Regions from separate parts of the Homo sapiens genome. Here region 2 is linked to region 1. The links are contacts of gene promoters, found by promoter capture Hi-C in blood cells and fetal thymus (Javierre and others, 2016). All regions are on one chromosome and are shown on one strand. The core of a region is centred on a gene start or on the middle of the fragment in contact, and the rest is flanking DNA. Distances in the headings are between cores, read along the strand shown. Region 1 holds the start of EGR3 (early growth response 3). Region 2 overlaps TNFRSF10B (TNF receptor superfamily member 10b).

The links. Contacts are between HindIII fragments. The CHiCAGO score rates a contact against its expected background, and 5 or more counts as called.
Region 2: a fragment that was not itself captured here is called in contact with the fragment with the promoter of EGR3 in region 1 in 1 of 17 cell types (M0 macrophages); the score reaches 5.0 in M0 macrophages.

Annotation. Positions count from the first base shown.
Region 1 is chr8:22,691,962-22,695,997 of GRCh38, reverse strand. It overlaps EGR3 (early growth response 3), which reads left to right and starts at 2,518. Exons shown (of 2, transcript NM_004430.3): 1 at 2,518-3,207. The coding sequence starts at 3,054. LOC105379321 (a long non-coding RNA gene) reads right to left here and starts at 1,141. Exons shown (of 3, transcript XR_001745832.2): 1 at 784-1,141; 2 at 466-554; 3 at 1-57. RefSeq lists silencers at 207-446, 1,227-1,446, 2,329-2,492, 2,437-2,556, 3,419-3,488 and 2 more and enhancers at 1,557-1,656, 1,697-1,806, 1,639-2,284. The HindIII fragment of the contact is 8,376 bases long and covers 1-4,036 here.
Region 2 is chr8:23,035,775-23,039,810 of GRCh38, reverse strand. All of the region lies in intron 2 of TNFRSF10B (TNF receptor superfamily member 10b), which reads left to right. Among named protein-coding and RNA genes, the nearest start is that of TNFRSF10B, 31 kb to the left of the region's middle. The HindIII fragment of the contact is 917 bases long and covers 1,433-2,349 here.

The DNA of each region.
Region 1 (4,036 bases), core at 1,269-3,768:
TCGAACAGGATAAGGGCTTCTAGCTCCTCACTCTGCAGCCCCTCCTGGGGAGAGATCCTGACAGGTGGAAAGTGGGTGCATCACGGTGGGGTCCTCCGGAGTTGAGCTGGGCGGCCCGGAGGCCTCTCACTTCCTTCCCACCACCCCCGCAGGCTGAGCTCTGCCTCGCGCGGGGAGACATGGGCACTGCAGCCTTCGGGCCTGCAGCTCGCCCAGGACCGCGGACCCCACAGCGTCTCCCGGCCCCAGGCAGGAACCCGTGGAGACCCTCCGCAGCCTCCGGGTGCACGCGCAGCAGGAAGCACTCTGGAGGGGCCAGGTCTGGGACTGGCGCGCCCGAAGCTCGCTGGTTGCCGCCCCTCCCTGGCCCTCCCTGCTGCCGGGCTCTACGGCCAGAGGCCAGAGCCGCTGGCTAATTTTTCAGGCCCCCACCCCCACCCCCACCGCCTCCCTGGGTGACGCTACAGCCTGTGCGGTTCCTTTAAAGGCTGCGGGTTCCGTTCTTCTTTCCTTTTCCACTGGATGCCAAAATATGCAAATCTTGGGACCGGAATCTGCAGCCAAATCGAGAAGGAGAAGGGGCGCGGCCGGCGCGTCACCGGATCCGCTCCTTGTATGGCTCTTCCCGGCTTGGCCCGCCGCCCTGCGACCCTCCCCGCAGCCGCCCGGGCCCCTCCCGCACCTAGCCCGGCTCACACCGCCGCCCACGCCCCCCGACCGGCCGCGCGCCCCCCCTAAGGGAGGGAGCCGGGGGCGGGAGGCGCAGCCTGCCCTGATTCTGACCGGAGCGCGGGACCGCTGCAGCGCTCTCCCTCCCTGAGCCGCGCTGGCGGAGGACAGCCCGGGGGGCGCTGTGGCTCCCTAGTATAGGAGTGGGGAGCCTGGCGGGAGAGGCGGCGGGGGTGGAGAGAGGGGGCTCGCGGGAGGCGGGAATCCCTCCTTTCCTAAGAACTGGAGAAGATGGGGGGAGGCCGGGCCCTCCGGTCCCCAGCCCTCCACTGAGTGGAGGGGAGGGGAGGGGAGCGAGGTTGTCATCCACCTCCACCACAACGTGCAGCTCGGGAGTTCCTCCCACACGTCCCCGGCCCGCGTGGCCCTCCCACGGCGTGAGGCCCGGGGATCCTCTCTTCTTCCTTGTCAACACTCCCACTCCCCCCGAGAAATGCACGTTCCCCCAACCCCGACTCCCCAGGAGGGGACGAGGGATTCACCGCGCCCACGCGGCCACCGAGGAGGGAATCCTCCCCCGCCAAGCCGATGTGATTTGGGGTCGCACCCCCATGCTCCCGCCCTCTCCTCCCCCTCGCCCGCGGGCCGGCTGCGCGCGCCTCGGGAGCAGGCCCCAGGGAGCACAGCAGCCGCCCCCGGGATCTGCTGCCGCTCCGGGAGGTGAAAGCGCTCCGGGTCGGCACACAGGCCGCCCTTGACTGCGGAGCGCCGGCAGGCAGCAATGGGGACAGCCCTGTGGAAGGCGAGGGGGAGGGCAGAGACTAGGGGAGGCCCCCAGTGGCTCAGAGACTGTGGGTTCGGCGTCCTCCTTCTGGAACTCTGGCGGGCCCTTCGCAGGCAGCAGTAGACAGCGACTGCGCCCGGGCCTGCTGGGCCCTCCTGCCATCCTGTGGCCACAGAGGCTGCTTGGAACCGTTAGGGAATTTACTGGGGATTCAGTGCACGTGTTTATCTATCCCTTCAACTTCATTCTTTCCTCTTCACCACGAAAACCGCACATCCTCGACCCCATATGGATGGGGCTCTTGTCTTTGGCGCAACTGCTGGGGTGCTCCGAATCTCCTCGCCACTGCGCTCAGCCTAGAGTCAGCGCCGGGTCAGGGGCCCAGGGAGGGGCAGGGGCGGCGAATCAGAGTGAAGTTGGCACAAAAGTTCTTGGGATATTGGACCAAGGAATTCTGACAAGTTGAAACACCCCCCCAACCCTGCGCGCACCCCTCCTTCCCCCCACAAAGGGAAGCACTCCCTTTCTCTTAATCTCGGATAGGATCCCGAACGCTGGAGCCGCTGAGGTAGCAGGGGCGCAACGCACGCCTTCCGGGTTCCCCAGCAGTTCCCGGGCTGCAAAGGGATTTCGCCAGATGTTTTCAACTCTCTTTCTAACTGCTGGGGTGTTGGAGACCACTTGCAAACAACCCCACCCCACCGCCCACCTCTCCCCAATGCGCTCTCCTAACGCAAACCTCAAATAAACACACACAATGAGTTACTGGTGTTTCGACTCCACGCTACGCGCTTTGCGCTTTGCATGCAGCTGTATCCTTCTTTCCTCTCTCTTCTCGCATTCTTCTTGTTTCTTCTCCCCTTCTCTTTTTTTCAAGAGCCGCGAGCGGTGCGGGCGCCGCACGTTGGCTGCGGCCCGCTTCCTGCTTTCTAATGTTCCATTGTGAGGAGCTTCCATTGTGACGTCGCGCCCCTTCGGCTGGGCTTTGTCTGTCCATATATGGGCAGCTACGTCACGGAGCTTTCCCGGGGCTCAGATAAATAGGCTGGTGGAGTTCCCTGGCTGGGAGCTTTTGGGCAGCAGTGAGCTTGCTAGGAAGCGGCGGGGCTGGTGGTGGTGGTAGCAGCGGCGGCAGCGGCGGCAGAGGCGGCGGCGGCGGCGGCGGCGGCGGCGGCGGTGGCGGTGGCGGTGGCGGTGGCAGATCGGGGGGCGGGGGGGCGGCGGGCGCGTGTCTGTTTGTGAGATCAATACTGAGGCCGCGTCCGACCCCCTTGAGCCGAGATCCCCCCCCAGCCCAGCCCCCACCCCACCCCCCGCACACGCCCCACCCCCCCCACGACCCAGCCTCATACCGCACCAGCTGAGGCACCCAAGAGGATTACCCCCTGGGGCCCTCTCCCGCCCCCCAAAAAAGAGAAGATCCCCTCTCCTGGCCCATCCCTTCCCTTCTTCCCTCCCCCCTCCCCCCGAACTTTCCCTCTCGCATGCTTTTCCCCTGCACCACGGATCGCCTCTCGGATGCCGCTTGCCTGGAAGCTGCGTTAGGAGCGAGCGGCGGCGGTGGCGGCGGTGGCGGCGGCGGCGGCAGCTCGGGAGTGCTATGACCGGCAAACTCGCCGAGAAGCTGCCGGTGACCATGAGCAGTTTGCTAAACCAACTGCCTGACAATCTGTACCCCGAGGAGATCCCCAGCGCGCTCAACCTCTTCTCCGGCAGCAGCGACTCGGTAGTCCATTACAATCAGATGGCTACAGGTAAGGGCGGCGGGGAGGCGGCGAGGCAGCGAGGAAGGAAGGGGAGAGGAAGAGGAGGAGGGGACGACCTGGTGATGGATGGATGGATGGATGGATGGATGGATGGATGGATGGGTGGATGGGTGGATAGATAAATGGATGGAGAGATGGGGGCGCGCTGGGAATTTTGCGGGGGGCGAGTTGCTTTTCCCACCCACTCCTCCCGCCCTCCTCGATCGAGAAGGCTAGGTTGGCGACGCCACGGTAGAGGCTTCGGTTCTCCCGGGTGGGGGCAGCCGCCGACCGGAGGGAGGTAGGTGCGAGCGGCTCTGGGGTTCTCCCTCACCACGCAGGGGGCCCGATCGCCGGGCTACGCGCAAGGCGTGGTGCTGTCGCCCTCTTCCCGGGAGGAGCCCGGCGTCTTTTTCACCCGCGCTCTCCCCCCTTACTCCCTCAGCCTCCCACCCGGGATGGAGCCATGTGCGGCGTGGAGTCCCCGCGGTGGGAGAGGTACTGCGACGCTGCCTTTCCGGGGCGTTCAGCAAAGCCGTGGGGGTGTGGGGACGGCGGGGAGAAGGAGGGGGTTCACCCGCGGGGCGAGGGCCTGCCACGGGGAACGATCCCGGGGCCGGGGAGCTGGGGAAGGGCGGCCTCTCCCGCCATGGAGACACCGGCCGGTTTTCCGCCGCTCTCCACCCTCCCTAGCTGGGGCTAGGATTTTCCCCTCCAGCAAGAGCCTAAAGCTCCTTCATGCCCGAGGAGGCTGGGGCCGGGGTAGGTGAAGGGAGAGCTCCCTTTGAGGGCGACACCCTTCTACGCTCCGAGGACAAAGCGTCGGAGCGCTCTGGGT
Region 2 (4,036 bases), core at 642-3,141, 340 kb before region 1:
AATACTGTGCTCCTGTACCACTCCATCTCTCCAGCTTTCTATTGTTGCTGTCATAGATCACATCCTTGCACGTTGTGTGACCACTGACGTCGATCTTAAGGACATGTATGTGTATGGAGCAAGGTTGACTTGTGATGGTTGATTTTATGTGTCAACTTGGTTACCCAGATACTTGGCCAAATATTATCCTAGATGTTTCTGTGAAGGTGTGTTTGTTGTTGTTGTTTTGTTGTTGGTTTTAGATGGGATTAACATTTAAATCAGTGGGCTTTGAGTCAAGCAGATTACCCCCTTAATGTTGGCAGGTCCCATCTAATCAGTTGAAAGCCTCAATAGAAAAAAGACTGACCTCCACCAAGAAAGAGGGTGTTCTGCCAGCAGGCAGCCTTCAGACCTGAGCTGTGACTCTTCTCTGCTGGCCTATCCTGTACCTTTTGAATTTGCCAGCCTCCACAGTTATGTGAACCAATTCCTTAAGATAAATCTTTATCTCTCTAGAGCAGGGGCCCCTGACCCCCAGGCCATGGACCAGTACTGGTCCGTGGCCTGTTAGGAACCAGGCCACACAGCAGGAGGTGGGCTGTAGATGAGTGAGCATTACTGCCCGAGCTCTGCATGCCGTCAAATCAGCGGCAGCATTAGACTTCATAGGAGCGTGAACCCTATTGTGAACTCCACATTTGAGAGATCTAGGTTGCGCACTCCTTATGAGAATCTAATGCCTGATGATCTGTCACTGTCTCCCATCACCCCCAGATAGGACCATCTAGTTGCAGGAAAATAAACTCAGGGCTTCCACTGATTCTACGTTATAGTGAGTTGTATAATTATTTCATTATATGTTACCATATAATAGTGATAGAAATAAAGTGCACAATAAATGTAACATGCTTGAATCATCCTGAAACCATCCCCATGCCCCCAACTCCAGTCCGTGGAAAAATTGTCTTTCAGGAAACCAGTCCCTGGTGGCAAAAATGTTGGAGACCCCTGCTCTAGAGAGCCCTGACTAATACAGAATTTTTAAAGATTTGAAATTCTTTTAAACCATACTTGATCTCCAAGTAATGGAAATAATAAGATTATATTTCCACCTAACATAATACAGCTATCCTGTATACAACTGAAAACGCACTAACCCTTTCTCCAGAAGAGGATGCAAAGTTCTTGAGTGGTGTTTACTCCTTTCCTTGATACCCTGGAACATAAATACTATAAAGTGAACAATACTTAAATACTATGATATAAATTCAAAATATCTTGTGTTACATAACAAGGGGATAAGAGAAGGAAGAAAACACAGATATTCGCTTAACATATATTTACACATAAACACACACACATAACACAATAAGGAAGAAATACTTATAATGATTACAGTCCTTATTTCCATAGCTGGTCATGTCATTGTAGCTGGTATTTATAAGAAGCTTCTTTCGCTGTGCATTCTGTATTCCCTGTGCCCTCACTAAGCACCTCAGCTGGTCATGGCTCTGTGCCTGGTAGAGTGAACTAACCTTTATTCCTGAAGGGTCTGAGCTATAAGTGGTCCTGCTTTAATAGGGTCGTGGTAGTTTTCCATTGACTTTACTCACAGGGCATGGTAATACTAAGAGATGCCCTAAGGAATCTCCTGTATTCTAGACATCCTCTTCCTTACGTCCATTGTGGAATAACAGTCCAATTTTCCCTTCAATTTCCCCTTTGTGTTCAGAATCAGTCAATCCAGCCAGCAGGGTTTGTGTAACTGGTTTTCGCCTGTTGATTCAGAGGCATGAGGAACCCAAAGTGGCCAAGTGGCAGTCTTCAAGTTACACAGAATCACTGTTGTGTCTCCTCATGGAATCATTCCTCCCTCTGAAACTCAGAGCTCTAGCAAAGCATAAAGCAGCAAAAATTTTGATAACAGGCCACTAAGGGTAATGTGGAGTGGGGCCATTCCTGCTTCCACCCCTAGATTCCTGGACACATGAATCCTAGCAATGGAAGAAGCAACCGCATGTATTGGAGGATAATTCAGAGCATAGACAGTCTCCTGGAGAACCTTGTTGCAGCCCTTCAAGGTACTGCCACCCAGCTGACATTGTAAATGAGTTTTCAAAAAGCCATATCCCACCATCTTACCAAGCCAGCAGTTTTGAGATGGTGGGGAACATGGTAAGACCAGTAATTCCATGAGCACAGGCCCATTATAGTGGGCGCTTCATTTGCCATCAAGTGAGTCCCTCAATCAGAAGCAATGCTGTGTGAATACCATGACTGTGGATAAGGCATTCTGTGAGTCCACAGAGGATAGTTTTGACAGAAGCATTGCATGCAGGGAAGGCAAGTCTATGTGCAAAATAAGCTTCTCTTCCAGTAAAAATGCTGCCCCCTCCATGATAGAAATGGTTCAGTGTAATAATCAACCTGCCACCAGGTAGCTGGCAGACTGACCCTCTGAATGGTGCTATATCAGAGACTCAGTGTTGGACTCTGCTGCCTATAGATTGGGCACTCAGTAGCAGCTGTAGCCAGGTTGGCCTTGGTGAGGGAAGTCTGTATTGTTAAGCCCATACATAACCTCCATCCCTGCCACCATGCACACTTTGTTCATGAGCCCATTGAGTGATGACAAGGATGGCTGGGAAAGAAGCTGACTGGTAGTCACAGAACAGGTCATCCTATCCACCTGATTATTAAAATCCTTCCCTGCTAAGATCACTTTTTGTGAAGATATTTGTGTCACATGGGGCACAAATATCTTCATGGTTTTTTTACCCATTGAGAAAGGTCTATCCACACACCTCTTCCCCAGACTTCCTTGTTATCAGTTTTCCTTCAGAGCCTCTGACCCTCCAGCCAAATCATTGACCACAGCTCATGAATCAGTATATAACTACATGTCTAGCCATTCTTCCCTCAAGCAAAATGAACAACCAGGTGTACTGCTCAGAGTTCTGCCCAGTGGCAGGATCTCTTTTTTTTGAGACGGAGTTTCGCTATTGTTGCCCGGGCTAGAGTGCAATGGGGCGACCTCGGCTCACTACAACCTCTGCCTCCCGGGTTCAAGTGATTCCCCTGCCTCAGCCTCCCAAGTAACTGGGATTACAGGCATGTGCCACCATGCTCGGTAATTTTGTATTTTTAGTAGAGACGAGGTTTCACCATGTTGGTCAGGCCAGTCTCGAACTCCTGACCTCAGGTGATCCACTCACCTCGGCCTCCCAAAGTGCTGGGATTACAGGTGTGAGCCACCACACCCGGCCTAGCGGATTTCTTTTCACCACTGTCCTTCAGGGACGTCCCAGACAGTGGATGTGATGCTGCAAACATCCACTTCTAAGGGTTACCTGTATGTGGTGCAGAACCATCTGTAAACCTTCTTCTGGCAACTGACCATAGGGAATTCCTCATGAGGCCATAAGTGCAGGCCAGGCAAAAGAAAGTAATATTGCAGGAGTGGGGATCATGGGCACTTGGGCCACTTCTTCATGTAACTTTCTTGTGCCTTCAGGGCCTATTTAAGCCCAATTTTGTATATATACCAATTACATTTGAAAATGGAAATGGAAACTTTAGGCTGTATGTGCCCAAACTTATGGCTTGGTAGGCAAAATAACACTCAGTTCACGATGAGCAGTCAGGTCGTAGAGTAATTTGGTGGCCTATGGTTAACCATTCAGTCTGCACTAAGGCCCAGAAACAAGCCAAGAGCTGTTTCTCAAAAGGAGAGTAGTTATCTGCAGAGGATGGCAAGTCTTTGCTCCAAAACCTAAGGGCCTGTGCTGTGGTTGACCTAGAGTGGGCTACTAAAGGTTCAAAACAGCATTGCTGTCTGCCACCAATACTTCAAGCACCGTTGGGTCTGCTGGGTCGTATGGCCCAAGTGACAGAAAAATGTCTACGGCAGCCTGGACCTGTTGCAGAGCCTTTTCTTGTTCTGAGCACCACTCAAAACTAGCACATTTTTAGGTGACTTGATAAATAGGCCAGAGAAACACACCCAAATGAGGAATATGTTGCCACCAAAATCAAAATAAGCACACTAGGCATT